Regions from separate parts of the Homo sapiens genome. Here all the other regions are linked to region 1. Evidence: promoter capture Hi-C in human tissues and cell types (Jung and others, 2019). All regions are on one chromosome and are shown on one strand. Each heading gives the region's core, a stretch centred on a gene start or on the middle of the fragment in contact. The rest is flanking DNA. Distances are from core to core; before and after follow the strand shown. Region 1 holds the start of ADAMTSL4-AS1 (ADAMTSL4 antisense RNA 1). Region 2 holds the start of BNIPL (BCL2 interacting protein like). Region 3 holds the start of MLLT11 (MLLT11 transcription factor 7 cofactor).

Evidence for each region. Contacts are between HindIII fragments. The study calls those that stand out against the background at their distance.
Region 2: a contact is called between the fragment with the promoter of BNIPL here and a fragment that was not itself captured in region 1, in 2 of the 25 tissues and cell types used here (dorsolateral prefrontal cortex and hippocampus).
Region 3: the fragment with the promoter of MLLT11 here is called in contact with a fragment that was not itself captured in region 1 in 1 of the 25 tissues and cell types used here (dorsolateral prefrontal cortex).

What each region holds. Positions count from the first base shown.
Region 1 is chr1:150,572,756-150,576,660 of GRCh38, reverse strand. It overlaps MCL1 (MCL1 apoptosis regulator, BCL2 family member), which reads left to right. Exons shown (of 3, transcript NM_021960.5): 3 at 1-2,103. It overlaps ADAMTSL4-AS1 (ADAMTSL4 antisense RNA 1), which reads left to right and starts at 2,109. Exons shown (of 4, transcript NR_104133.1): 1 at 2,109-2,537; 2 at 2,840-3,002. The HindIII fragment of the contact is 4,214 bases long and covers 117-3,905 here.
Region 2 is chr1:151,034,728-151,038,657 of GRCh38, reverse strand. BNIPL (BCL2 interacting protein like) reads right to left here and starts at 2,072. Exons shown (of 10, transcript NM_138278.4): 1 at 1,892-2,072; 2 at 996-1,091; 3 at 90-154. The coding sequence starts at 1,932. PRUNE1 (prune exopolyphosphatase 1) reads right to left here. Exons shown (of 8, transcript NM_021222.3): 8 at 2,945-3,930. The HindIII fragment of the contact is 8,096 bases long and covers 1,197-3,930 here.
Region 3 is chr1:151,058,581-151,062,539 of GRCh38, reverse strand. It overlaps MLLT11 (MLLT11 transcription factor 7 cofactor), which reads right to left and starts at 2,143. Exons shown (of 2, transcript NM_006818.4): 1 at 1,987-2,143. It overlaps CDC42SE1 (CDC42 small effector 1), which reads left to right and starts at 2,918. Exons shown (of 5, transcript NM_020239.4): 1 at 2,918-3,061. RefSeq lists an enhancer at 2,006-2,597. The HindIII fragment of the contact is 8,370 bases long and covers 571-3,959 here.

The DNA.
Region 1 (3,905 bases), core at 974-3,473:
CTATTTCTTTGAAACGAAGGAAGTATCGAATTTACATTAGTTTTTTTCATACCCTTTTGAACTTTGCAACTTCCGTAATTAGGAACCTGTTTCTTACAGCTTTTCTATGCTAAACTTTGTTCTGTTCAGTTCTAGAGTGTATACAGAACGAATTGATGTGTAACTGTATGCAGACTGGTTGTAGTGGAACAAATCTGATAACTATGCAGGTTTAAATTTTCTTATCTGATTTTGGTAAGTATTCCTTAGGTTTTTCTTTGAAAACCTGGGATTGAGAGGTTGATGAATGGAAATTCTTTCACTTCATTATATGCAAGTTTTCAATAATTAGGTCTAAGTGGAGTTTTAAGGTTACTGATGACTTACAAATAATGGGCTCTGATTGGGCAATACTCATTTGAGTTCCTTCCATTTGACCTAATTTAACTGGTGAAATTTAAAGTGAATTCATGGGCTCATCTTTAAAGCTTTTACTAAAAGATTTTCAGCTGAATGGAACTCATTAGCTGTGTGCATATAAAAAGATCACATCAGGTGGATGGAGAGACATTTGATCCCTTGTTTGCTTAATAAATTATAAAATGATGGCTTGGAAAAGCAGGCTAGTCTAACCATGGTGCTATTATTAGGCTTGCTTGTTACACACACAGGTCTAAGCCTAGTATGTCAATAAAGCAAATACTTACTGTTTTGTTTCTATTAATGATTCCCAAACCTTGTTGCAAGTTTTTGCATTGGCATCTTTGGATTTCAGTCTTGATGTTTGTTCTATCAGACTTAACCTTTTATTTCCTGTCCTTCCTTGAAATTGCTGATTGTTCTGCTCCCTCTACAGATATTTATATCAATTCCTACAGCTTTCCCCTGCCATCCCTGAACTCTTTCTAGCCCTTTTAGATTTTGGCACTGTGAAACCCCTGCTGGAAACCTGAGTGACCCTCCCTCCCCACCAAGAGTCCACAGACCTTTCATCTTTCACGAACTTGATCCTGTTAGCAGGTGGTAATACCATGGGTGCTGTGACACTAACAGTCATTGAGAGGTGGGAGGAAGTCCCTTTTCCTTGGACTGGTATCTTTTCAACTATTGTTTTATCCTGTCTTTGGGGGCAATGTGTCAAAAGTCCCCTCAGGAATTTTCAGAGGAAAGAACATTTTATGAGGCTTTCTCTAAAGTTTCCTTTGTATAGGAGTATGCTCACTTAAATTTACAGAAAGAGGTGAGCTGTGTTAAACCTCAGAGTTTAAAAGCTACTGATAAACTGAAGAAAGTGTCTATATTGGAACTAGGGTCATTTGAAAGCTTCAGTCTCGGAACATGACCTTTAGTCTGTGGACTCCATTTAAAAATAGGTATGAATAAGATGACTAAGAATGTAATGGGGAAGAACTGCCCTGCCTGCCCATCTCAGAGCCATAAGGTCATCTTTGCTAGAGCTATTTTTACCTATGTATTTATCGTTCTTGATCATAAGCCGCTTATTTATATCATGTATCTCTAAGGACCTAAAAGCACTTTATGTAGTTTTTAATTAATCTTAAGATCTGGTTACGGTAACTAAAAAAGCCTGTCTGCCAAATCCAGTGGAAACAAGTGCATAGATGTGAATTGGTTTTTAGGGGCCCCACTTCCCAATTCATTAGGTATGACTGTGGAAATACAGACAAGGATCTTAGTTGATATTTTGGGCTTGGGGCAGTGAGGGCTTAGGACACCCCAAGTGGTTTGGGAAAGGAGGAGGGGAGTGGTGGGTTTATAGGGGGAGGAGGAGGCAGGTGGTCTAAGTGCTGACTGGCTACGTAGTTCGGGCAAATCCTCCAAAAGGGAAAGGGAGGATTTGCTTAGAAGGATGGCGCTCCCAGTGACTACTTTTTGACTTCTGTTTGTCTTACGCTTCTCTCAGGGAAAAACATGCAGTCCTCTAGTGTTTCATGTACATTCTGTGGGGGGTGAACACCTTGGTTCTGGTTAAACAGCTGTACTTTTGATAGCTGTGCCAGGAAGGGTTAGGACCAACTACAAATTAATGTTGGTTGTCAAATGTAGTGTGTTTCCCTAACTTTCTGTTTTTCCTGAGAAAAAAAAATAAATCTTTTATTCAAATACAGGGTGTGATATGGGTCTTTTCTCATCGACGCCTCTTTTTCCTTCCCTCTCTTAGGCAAACCTTTTAGAGAAGTCAGCTGAGCAAATATGTACAGGTGAATTCAAAGCAAAAGCCTCACAAAGTTGATTTGCCTTAGAGCAAAGGACAGTTCCTTTCTTCAATTCTAATTAGAGGTGTTGGGTTTTTAATTAAATATATTACTGCTGTACTTAGAGGAGTTCTTAAACCTCCAAGTAAAATCAAAAACCTCTTTAAAATCAAAATTTCTGTCTTGATTTATTTATTTATTATTTTTTTTTTGAGATGGAGTTTTGCTCTTGTTGTCCAGGCTGGAGTGCAATGGCACGATCTCCGCTCACCGCAACCTCCGCCTCCCAGGTTCAAATGATTCTCCTGCCTCAGCCTCCTGAGTAGCTGGGAATACAGGCATGCGCCACCACACCCAGATAATTTTGTATTTTTAGTAGAGATGGGGTTTCTCCGTGTTGGTCAGGCTGGTCTTGAACTCCCGACCTCAGGTGATCTGCCCACCTCTGCCTCCCAGAGTGCCAGGATTACAGGCGTGAGCCATCGCACCCAGCCTCTGTCTTGATTTTTTTGAATCACCAGGTGTTGGTATGTTTTGTTTTGTTTTGTTTTGAGGCACAGTCTCACTCTTTTGCCCAGGCTAGAGTGCAGTGGGGCAATCTCGGCTCACTGCAACCTCAGCCTCCCGAGTAGCTGGGATTACAGGTGCCCGCCACCATGCCCGGCTAATTTTTCTATTTTTGGTAGAGACGGGGTTTTGCCGTGTTGGTCAGGCTGGTCTTGAAGTCCTGACCTCAGTGATCCACTCGCCTCAGCCGAAGTGCTGCGATTACAGACCTGAGCCACTGCGCCCAGCCTTGATCTTGAGGTAAGAGGGTACTGTACAGCAGTTACTCTATCATAACACCTAAATAATACCTAAAGTTAAAGAGTTTTGATGAAGTTCTTGGCAGCAGTGCTTTTCCCCTTCTGCTTTCCAAAAGGAGGTAAAAAGAAGCCAGTCAATTTCAAAAACCCCTATCCTGCTTTTATTTTCAGCTACCTTGAAAGTGAGCTGAATCACCATGGAAATGTGCAAATGTGAGGTTTGCATACTTGGTTTTAAGCCCTGAGCACCATATGCTAATCAGGCAATCAGGATTCTGTGCCTCCCTGCAGTCAGTTGCATTTCTATTTAAAAGTGCATTTTGGTTTGGAAGCCCCTTTCTGGAGCCTAACTACCAAAAGGCAGCAACTTTTTGTATCATTACAAAGAAAGCTGTGTAAGTGCACTCCCAAGCAAAGGTGTGGTAGGAGAGTAGCAGCCACAGAGGACCCAAGCCCAAGTCTTGGCCTGAGTTAAGTTAGTGCTATTGCTCCCATTGACGTGCTATGATGTGAAGCCGTTTCTGGTACAGTGTTCCTTTGCTCAGCACCTTAAAAGCTTGGATTTAATAGTAACTGGGTAACCTTAATCAGTAGTCAGAATTATCAACACTTTGCTTTATTTGACACAACCAGACTTTCTCAGTTCCTGTTCTGTATCTAGAGCAACGTCTTCATACTGTTTTTTCACAAAATTTTTATTTAAAACAGTTGTGACAGCCGAAGGATTTTTTTTTTTTTTTTTACAAAATTAAAATGAAATAACTTGTACAACTGGTGCGTACCATGGCTCCAGCCAGATGCCCAAAGCACTGGCTATTAATTCCTGGAGTTCAGATGGTCAGTTGAGTCTATCCTAGTTTTTTGCTTCACTTGTTCAATCATGGAACTTTCTAGAACGCTGCCA
Region 2 (3,930 bases), core at 823-3,322, 460 kb before region 1:
GGGAAATGGAACTGTAAAAGGATAGAGGTGGCATAGCCCTTTACTGGACTAGAATCAAGAACTTGAGGCCTGGTTTCTACTTGACCTACCTGCCTGTGAATCTCCTTTAGGGTCTTCAGGATCTTCAGAAGTGCCAGCCTCCTCAGGAAGCAATCTAGAGGGGAAGAGATTAAAAGGCGGCAGACATATACACCAAAGGCATCAAGCCAGGACTCAATATATAGGTTCTCTCTCCCCACCATGATTTTATCACCTATGCTGCTTTTTTTTTTAATTGTTTTTTTGAGACAGGGTCTCACTCTGTTGCCCAGGCTGGAATGCAGTGGCACAATCACAGCTCACTGCAGCCTCTACCTCCAGGGTTCAAGCGGTCCTCCCACCTCAGCCTCCCGAGTAGCTGGGCCTACAGGTGTGCACCACCACACTTGGCTAAATTTTGTATTTTTGTAGAGATGGGGTTATGCCATGTTGCCCAGAGTAGTCTTGAACTTCTGAGCTCAAGTGATCCACCTGCCTCGGCCTCCCAAAGTGCTGGGATTACAGGCATCAGCCACCACGCCCGGCCTCTGTTTTCTTTTTCCCATTTTTTTCCTTCAAGTCCTAATTCACCATCCCTGTGTCCATTTGCTTTTTTTTTTTTTTTTTTTTTTTTTTTTTGAGACAGAGTTTCACTCTTGTTGCCCAAGCTCGGGTGTAATGGCACAATCTCAGCTCACTACAACCTCTGCCTCCCAGGTTCAAGTGATTCTCCTGCCTCAGCCTCCCGAGTAGCTGGGATTACAGGCATGTGCCACCACACCTGGCTAATTTTGTATTTTTAGTAGAGACGGGATTTCACCGTGTTGGTCAGGCTGGTCTCAAACTCCTGACCTCAGGTGATCCACCCGCCTCGGCCACCCAAAGTGCTGGGATTACAGCCATGAGCCGCCGCGCCATCCCCTCCGTCCATTCGTGACCACCCCTCCCTTCTCCCAGCCACCCTCACACGTCCTCACCTAGGGAATTCTTCATCCTGCCATTCCTCCTTCAGCTCCAACTCCCCATGTCTCAGGGCTGCTCCTAGTTCTGGTGCTTCTGCAATCTCCCTGACCCTAAGACAGCCCCCAAGAAGAAAAGATCAAGGGAACTGAATAGTAGGTAAGAATAATTGAAATGAAGAACAGTAATTGAGATACAGAGCAGAGGATAGGCCTTCAAAAGGACTCAGATCTCTTGCCTCCTATACAGATGCTTCTCTTACCTTCACCACTTGCTAGAAGCAGATTACCTGCTGTTAAGTTTGGGAGCAGACGAAAGATGGAATGTAAAGTTAATCATATTTACCTCTGTAGCAGTTGCTCCACCTACAAAGTTGGGGTGAGAGATGTCCCACATTACAAGTGGCTGGAACCCAGCTAGACCCACCCAGCTATCATTGAGCAAAGTCGGGAAGACGGTACCTAGTTAGGCCTGCCTTTCCTCCACCGAGCTGGGGAGTGGCTAAGGGAAAACATGGCATAAGTGGAGGGGTGGAGGAAGAAGGTAAGGAGAAAGATTTGCCAGAACGAGAACCTGGACCTAAACTCGGTTCTGGTTCAGCTTTCCTGATGGCCATTCTGGAGGGTGAGGGTTAGAAAATAAAAGAACACAGGCAGATTTATCAGGTACAACATATTACAGAAACTTCCTTTATTTTTAAACCAGGGAATTATCCTGGAATCCTGTTCCCCAGTTCCATACCATACTGACATTTCCTACCTAAAACCACCCTCATCTCTTCTCTGCAAACTCTCTTACAGTCTTGTCTCCTTGAGGAACCCGAGATTTGACCCAGTAAGAGCTGGGTGGTGGGGAAGTCTCTCCGGACTGTTTATTCACTGTTACCAATCAAGTGAGCCAAGATCTTACTTACCCAACATCTGTCTTTTTTCCTGCCTCTTGTATAGTTCCCATCTTCACAAGTCTTCCTGCCTCCTTCTTTAAACACCTAGGAGTTGTTGGGGAGCTGGTTGTCCCAGCCCCCAACACTTCCTTACCTCTTTTCTGTCTCAGCTGTTGTAGCTCTTGCCTCCAAGGAGGGAGGTGTGGAAGGGAGGTAACCTCATCTTCAAAACAGGTTTTGCCACTCCTCTCCCCAGGAGCAGGTTTGCCCAAAAGAAAAACCCTGCCTCCTGTGAGGGGGCGGGTTTTGGGGAGGAGAGTGCATTTTCTAGTGGGGGCCAGTCTCGGTTGAGTCTAGGAAGGCAATTTGTTCTCCTTTCCAGACTCCATATATCCCTCTCAAAGTTGCTCTTTACACAAATAAGCAAAAAAACCAGTAGAAACCGTTGTGTTTCTGGCCGGGCGTGGTGGCTCACACCTGTAATCCCAACACTTTGGGAGGCCAAGGCAGGCGGATCACCTGAGGTCGGGAGTTTGAGACCAGCCTGACCAATGTGGAGAAACCCCATCTCTACTAAAAATCCAAAAAAAAAAAAAAAAAAAAAAAAAAAAAAAAATTATCTGGGCGTGGTGACACATGCCTATAATCCCAGCTACTTGGGAGGCTGAGGCAGGAGAATCGCTTGAACCTGGGAGGCAGAGGTTGTAGTGGGCTGAGATTGTGCCATTGCACTCCAGCCAGGGCAAAAAGAGCAAAACTCCATCTCAAAAAAAAAAAAAAAAAGAAAAAGAAACCATTGTGTGTGTTTCTAGGACTGTTATCTTGGATCTACTTTTCAAGCATAAGGAAAACTGGGGAAACGGAAGTATGTTATAAGGAGGTTTCTGGGAGAATAAACAAGTTGAACGGGAGGCTGAGGATGAGGGGAGACAGAAGCCTGTTGCTCCTTATTCCCAAAAAGAGTCAACAGAAAGAAGACATTAAGTATAGTAGGAAGAAGGGGGATCAATTTTGAGGAGACTGAAACAACTATCACAGAGAAAGGCCTGAATACACTTGTAAAAAAAGACAGTAAGACCCCCAAACAGGAAAAAATTATTTAATAGTATAACAAAATGCAAAATAAAGTACCCAAGTTACAAAACATAAATTCCTTTGGTTCATGATCACACCACTATTTTTACCTTCCACATAGCTACAGACATCACACCCTCAAAGTGAAGTCAAACTGTCCCCCTCATACTGAAGATGTCATGCCAAAACCATCACATACCCCACTGTTCAGTGAAACTGTTGGCAACTTACATGGAACAGAGCTGTGGGGTAGGAAAAAGGGGAAAGGGTTGCGTTAAAAAAAATGGGGAGACTCTACACATGCAGAACAAGTTAGTGGGAGGGAGTGCTCTGCTGGGTCAACACGCCATGAACCACACCCCTATTCGTGCTACATGAGGCTGAGTCCTTGCTACAACCACACAGAAATACAGACAATCAAGTGAACCTGAGCACCCCCAGGGATAACAGAAGAAAAATACAGAGAAGCAGAGGAGAGAAAGAATGGCAGCAAGAGGCAGATCACAGAATACCAGGGAACACCTAGTCCAAACCCTGTTTTACAGATGGGGAAAGTGAGACCTGGAGTAGTGAAGTGTCTTGCCAAAATACATAGTTTATGGGAGCATTAGAACTCCATGCTTCCTTTTAATGTGAGCAAGGAAAAAAAGAGATTGACAAGAAATTGATAGGCCTGCTAAGGCAGGAGACAGACCCAGGCCTCTCATTCCAGTTCTGTTGTCTTTTTGGAAGAGTGCCTATGAGGTCATTAAGGCCTTTCTGGGTGTTTTCTTGATTCTCAAGAGTCAGGGTTCTGGGTGGCTCTGGGACAGAGGGATCCAAAGAAACAGCCAGGCCACCTGATCAGGACAGAAGACAATGGCCTCTAATCTGTTCCCAAACTAGATCTGAAACAGTCACAATAAGCTAAGAATAGAAATTCAGCCATCTCTGAATCAAACACCATCACCTAAATGGTGGCAGAAAGAAAAGTCACCGAGCTGATAATCTGCTGT
Region 3 (3,959 bases), core at 894-3,393, 490 kb before region 1:
AATACAAAAATTAGCCAGGTGTGGTGGCAGGCGCCTATAATCCCAGCTACTCGGGAGGCTGAGGCAGGAGAATCGCTTGAACTGGGGAGGTGGAGGTTGCAGTGAGCCAAGATTGCACCACTGCACTCCAGCCTGGGCAACAGAGCGAGACTCCATCTTAAAAAAAAAAAAAAAATAGAATCATGGGGGGAAAAAATCATAGAATTTTAAAACTAGAAGACATCTTAGAAATTAATGACTTGGGAAGACTTCCAGCCAGTTTGTATAGAATCCAGATCTCATAATTCCCAATCTGATCCCTTTTTGTGTTGTACATGGATAGTTGCCAACAGCTTTATATAACCCTATACCAGTATTCCCAAAACTTAAAAGAATTTTTAGTTGCTGAAGAATAGATTTTCCGTGGTTTAGGTGATTGTTCCTGTAATTGTGATCTGAATGGGGAAAAGCAAAGGGCAGTAGAGCAAGCTAGAATCTGAGAAAAAAAAAAAAGCTCTTCGACAAACTGACTCCTTTTCTTACAACCAGAGTATGTATAAAAAACTGCTCAAACAGTCCCTGAGTGTTTGGTAGAGCTATCTTGCAATTTAAAAAGCTAAAGCAAATTTTATGAAATATTAACTCAAAAGGCCTAAAATCTCTATGTCATTGACCCAGAGACATGTACACAGGGTACCAAATACATTCAAGAAAGACATGCATGCAAACATACGTGGCATTAAAATCAAGTCAAGAACATAAAGTAATACTACACAGAAAATTGAAGTTAAAATGCTATTCACTAATGTAAGTAGTAATGACATTTTTGATTTAATATAGTATGGATTTAATTATCAAATACTCCAAATTTCGCAAAAGATCCTTTTTTGGCTAGCTTCCCCTTCCCCTCCACAAATGCTCTCCAGCCCTACTTCATCTATCTTTACATCTTTCATTATCTTAAATGGTATCATTTACTTAAAGGGTTTTGACAGTGCCTTGTACCACAATATATGTTCAATAAATGCTTCCCACTATCCTTCACTTTAAATTATCCGGGTATTTTAGGCAAAGGCAATATCTAATTATCACTCTGTTCTTAGAGATACATGATTAGCAAATGTATAGATTAGAAAGATACACTCTCGGAGCCACACAGACACGCCCAAATATCCTTTGTCCAGACCCTTTGTGGGCATCCAAGGCCTACTCAACAGGGCCTTGCTGTGTCATGCTGCCACCATGGGGAAGGGGGAAGGACAAGGTGGTGGTGGTGGTAGAGGGGAGCAGAACCTCTCTGACATCTCATAATGTGTGCCTCAGTCAGAGCTTGGATTTTCCTACTAGCATTCCTCCACCAATTCCACTGAGCTGCAAATCATTCTTTTCCAGAATCTGTCCCCATACCTAGCTCCTGTGGGCTATACTGATTTCACTATGGAATCAGGCAGTTCTCCAACACAGAGGCCCCCACCTTTCCTACCCTAGGCTGCCTCTTTCTTTGGAGCAAAGATTCGAGGTGGAATGAAAGAGATTATCCAAAGAAAGGTCAGGATTACACCCAACATTATCCCATATAACCCCCTCCCAAACTCCCTCCTACAGAGAAACATAGAACACTACAGAAAAAAATTGCAAGTATAGGGAAGTAGAGGACAGAGAGATACAGTAGGACTAAAAATTAAACAGCTGGTAAAACAAATTATGGTTTGAAAAGGAAGATAAGTAGACTGAAGATATTAAATACACAGGACAATAAATTACAGAAAAGGATACTTGAAATGAGGTAGGTGCTGAGAAATAACTACAAGTAAATTGTTAGAGATTAATGGTCTGTATAAGGTAACAAGGCATGGATGCTGTGAAGAAATAACTACCCATTGTTCATAGCGCCCCCTTCTCTCCTCTTCAGCTGTCCCCCACCTCATGTGGGGTCTTTCAATCTAACCATAAGCAGCCGCTCTTCTATCTTTGCAGCCCCCTGCCCCCTCCCTCAGTTTGGTTTACCTGTTATCAATCAATTACTGGCGTGTTCCAAAGATGGAGGGAGTGCCTCGGGAGCTCCGGGGTCTGCGCCGGGCTGGAGAAATACAAAGCTGTTGGGGCTTTGACGGCTTTGTCTTCTCACTCCTTTTCCCTCTTCAGTGACTGAGTCTGTCAGTTCACTCTCCCCCTGCAATGCAGCCCCTCCTAAGAAGGGCGGAAGGATTCCCCGCCCCCTCCTGCCTGACTCGGCTAATTCAAATGATAGGTTCCAGAACACTTGAGGGAAGGAGAGACGATGAAAGCATCTCCCTAGGCTCATTGGTCTGCGCTATTATTCCCGATCTCTTCCAGCACCCCCGTGCTGACTGGGGGCCCAATGAATGAGCAGTTAATTGCCCTCTAATTTTAGGTCCTCTAATTTATGGATTTGAAATCTTAACTCTAGACTACAATGGAAAGGAGGAGTATTCCTTTCTTCCACAATTTAAGGACTTTAGGTTACAAAGTATTTTTAAGAATCAGAGTATTTTTCCACCCCTTCTCCCAATCCCTGCTCCTCCAGACTCGCCTCTCTACCCTCACAATGGGTAAATAAACCTAGTCCTATTCCATTTTGGGTAGAGCACAATAAATTTGGGGTGGGGGGCGTGCTTCTGCGAATCTCTGAACTTGGTTAGGTCTGGGGGTTTGGGGGGCTCCGCTTCGTTTTGCCCCGAAATGCCTGGCGAGTAAAGGGAACGTGAGATTCCGGGGGCCCCAGCTTGGGTGCCAGGGCCTCATCTAGGTGTCCGCATTCTCCAGTTCTCCCCGCAGGGGCGGCGGCCTTGAGGGGCTGCAGAGGCACCCTCCCACGTCCCGCGCAGTGCAGTGCCTCCGCAGTCCAGAGGGGAGCAGTGCGCCGGGCTCCGAGCCGGACGGGTTTCGTAATCGCGTCGCCGCCGCTTCCGCCCTCAGCCGGCCCCACCTCTGCCGGCTCGTACTCGGCTCCCCCACCTCGCCGCAGAGCTAGCCCGGGAAGCCCACACTGGCGGCCACGGAGCAGAGTCCCTCACCCCCACCAGCTGTAGCTGAACGTCTGGATGGTGGAGAAGAGCAGGTGAGGCCGTGCAGTTGGTCCCCTGGCCCGCCTGCCGCGCCGGCCGGGCCAGGCGGAGACACACCGGATGCGGGGTGTGGGGGAGGCGGGTGTCCTGGGCTGCAGAGATGCTGGGGTGGTGGGAAAGGGGTGCGCGCCCGGGGTGGCCGTAGTCATCCACGCTCCTGGGGTGCGCAGGCTGAGGCCGCTGAAGAGTAGAAGGAAAAGAAGGAACTGGAATGTTGGGGGAGGTGGGAGGGAGAGGGTCCGAAAGATTCCCAGAGAGGTCCCAGTCCGGTTAAGGGTTGAGAACAGCAGAGAACTTCTAGGTAGAGTTGTGTAGTGGGGGGAGACAGATACGGAATCTGTGTGATTGAATATATTTGGGGAGGGGAGGCTTAGGGCCTAGCCCTCTTTCCTCTTAAGCCCCCAGAAGACCTTTCCTGGGGAAGGGAAGGTTGGTGTTGGGCCTGTCACTTGGCTGAAATATGGAGTCCACACCGCTTCTCCAGAGTCCCTCAGCAGCCCTCCATGTCTCGGGGTCTCCACACAGGGACCAGCTGCTGCCCCGGGCTTCTAGCCAGAATTGCCCATGCCATTCTCTCGATTCTTTCTTTCTCTCCAGCTGCTTCATGTGAGGGCTTGTCAGGCCGCGGGTTGGAGGCCTTAGGGCCAGAGGCGGTGGGACCGGGAGAACCGGTTTGGGGCCCGAACAGGACCAGAGAACTAGCCTGTACATCCTTCCTCCCTGGCACCTCTTTCCCATCCCTTCTGCTCACCTCCCAACAGCTCTGAGACCCTCAAGTCCTAGTATGATCTTGGTGGGGGCGGGGGGTGGCTTTCCCGGTTCCATATTTCACTCTTGCCATTTGGAACTCAGAGAGGTCGAGTTCTGAGCACCACTTGGCTCTCAGGACGT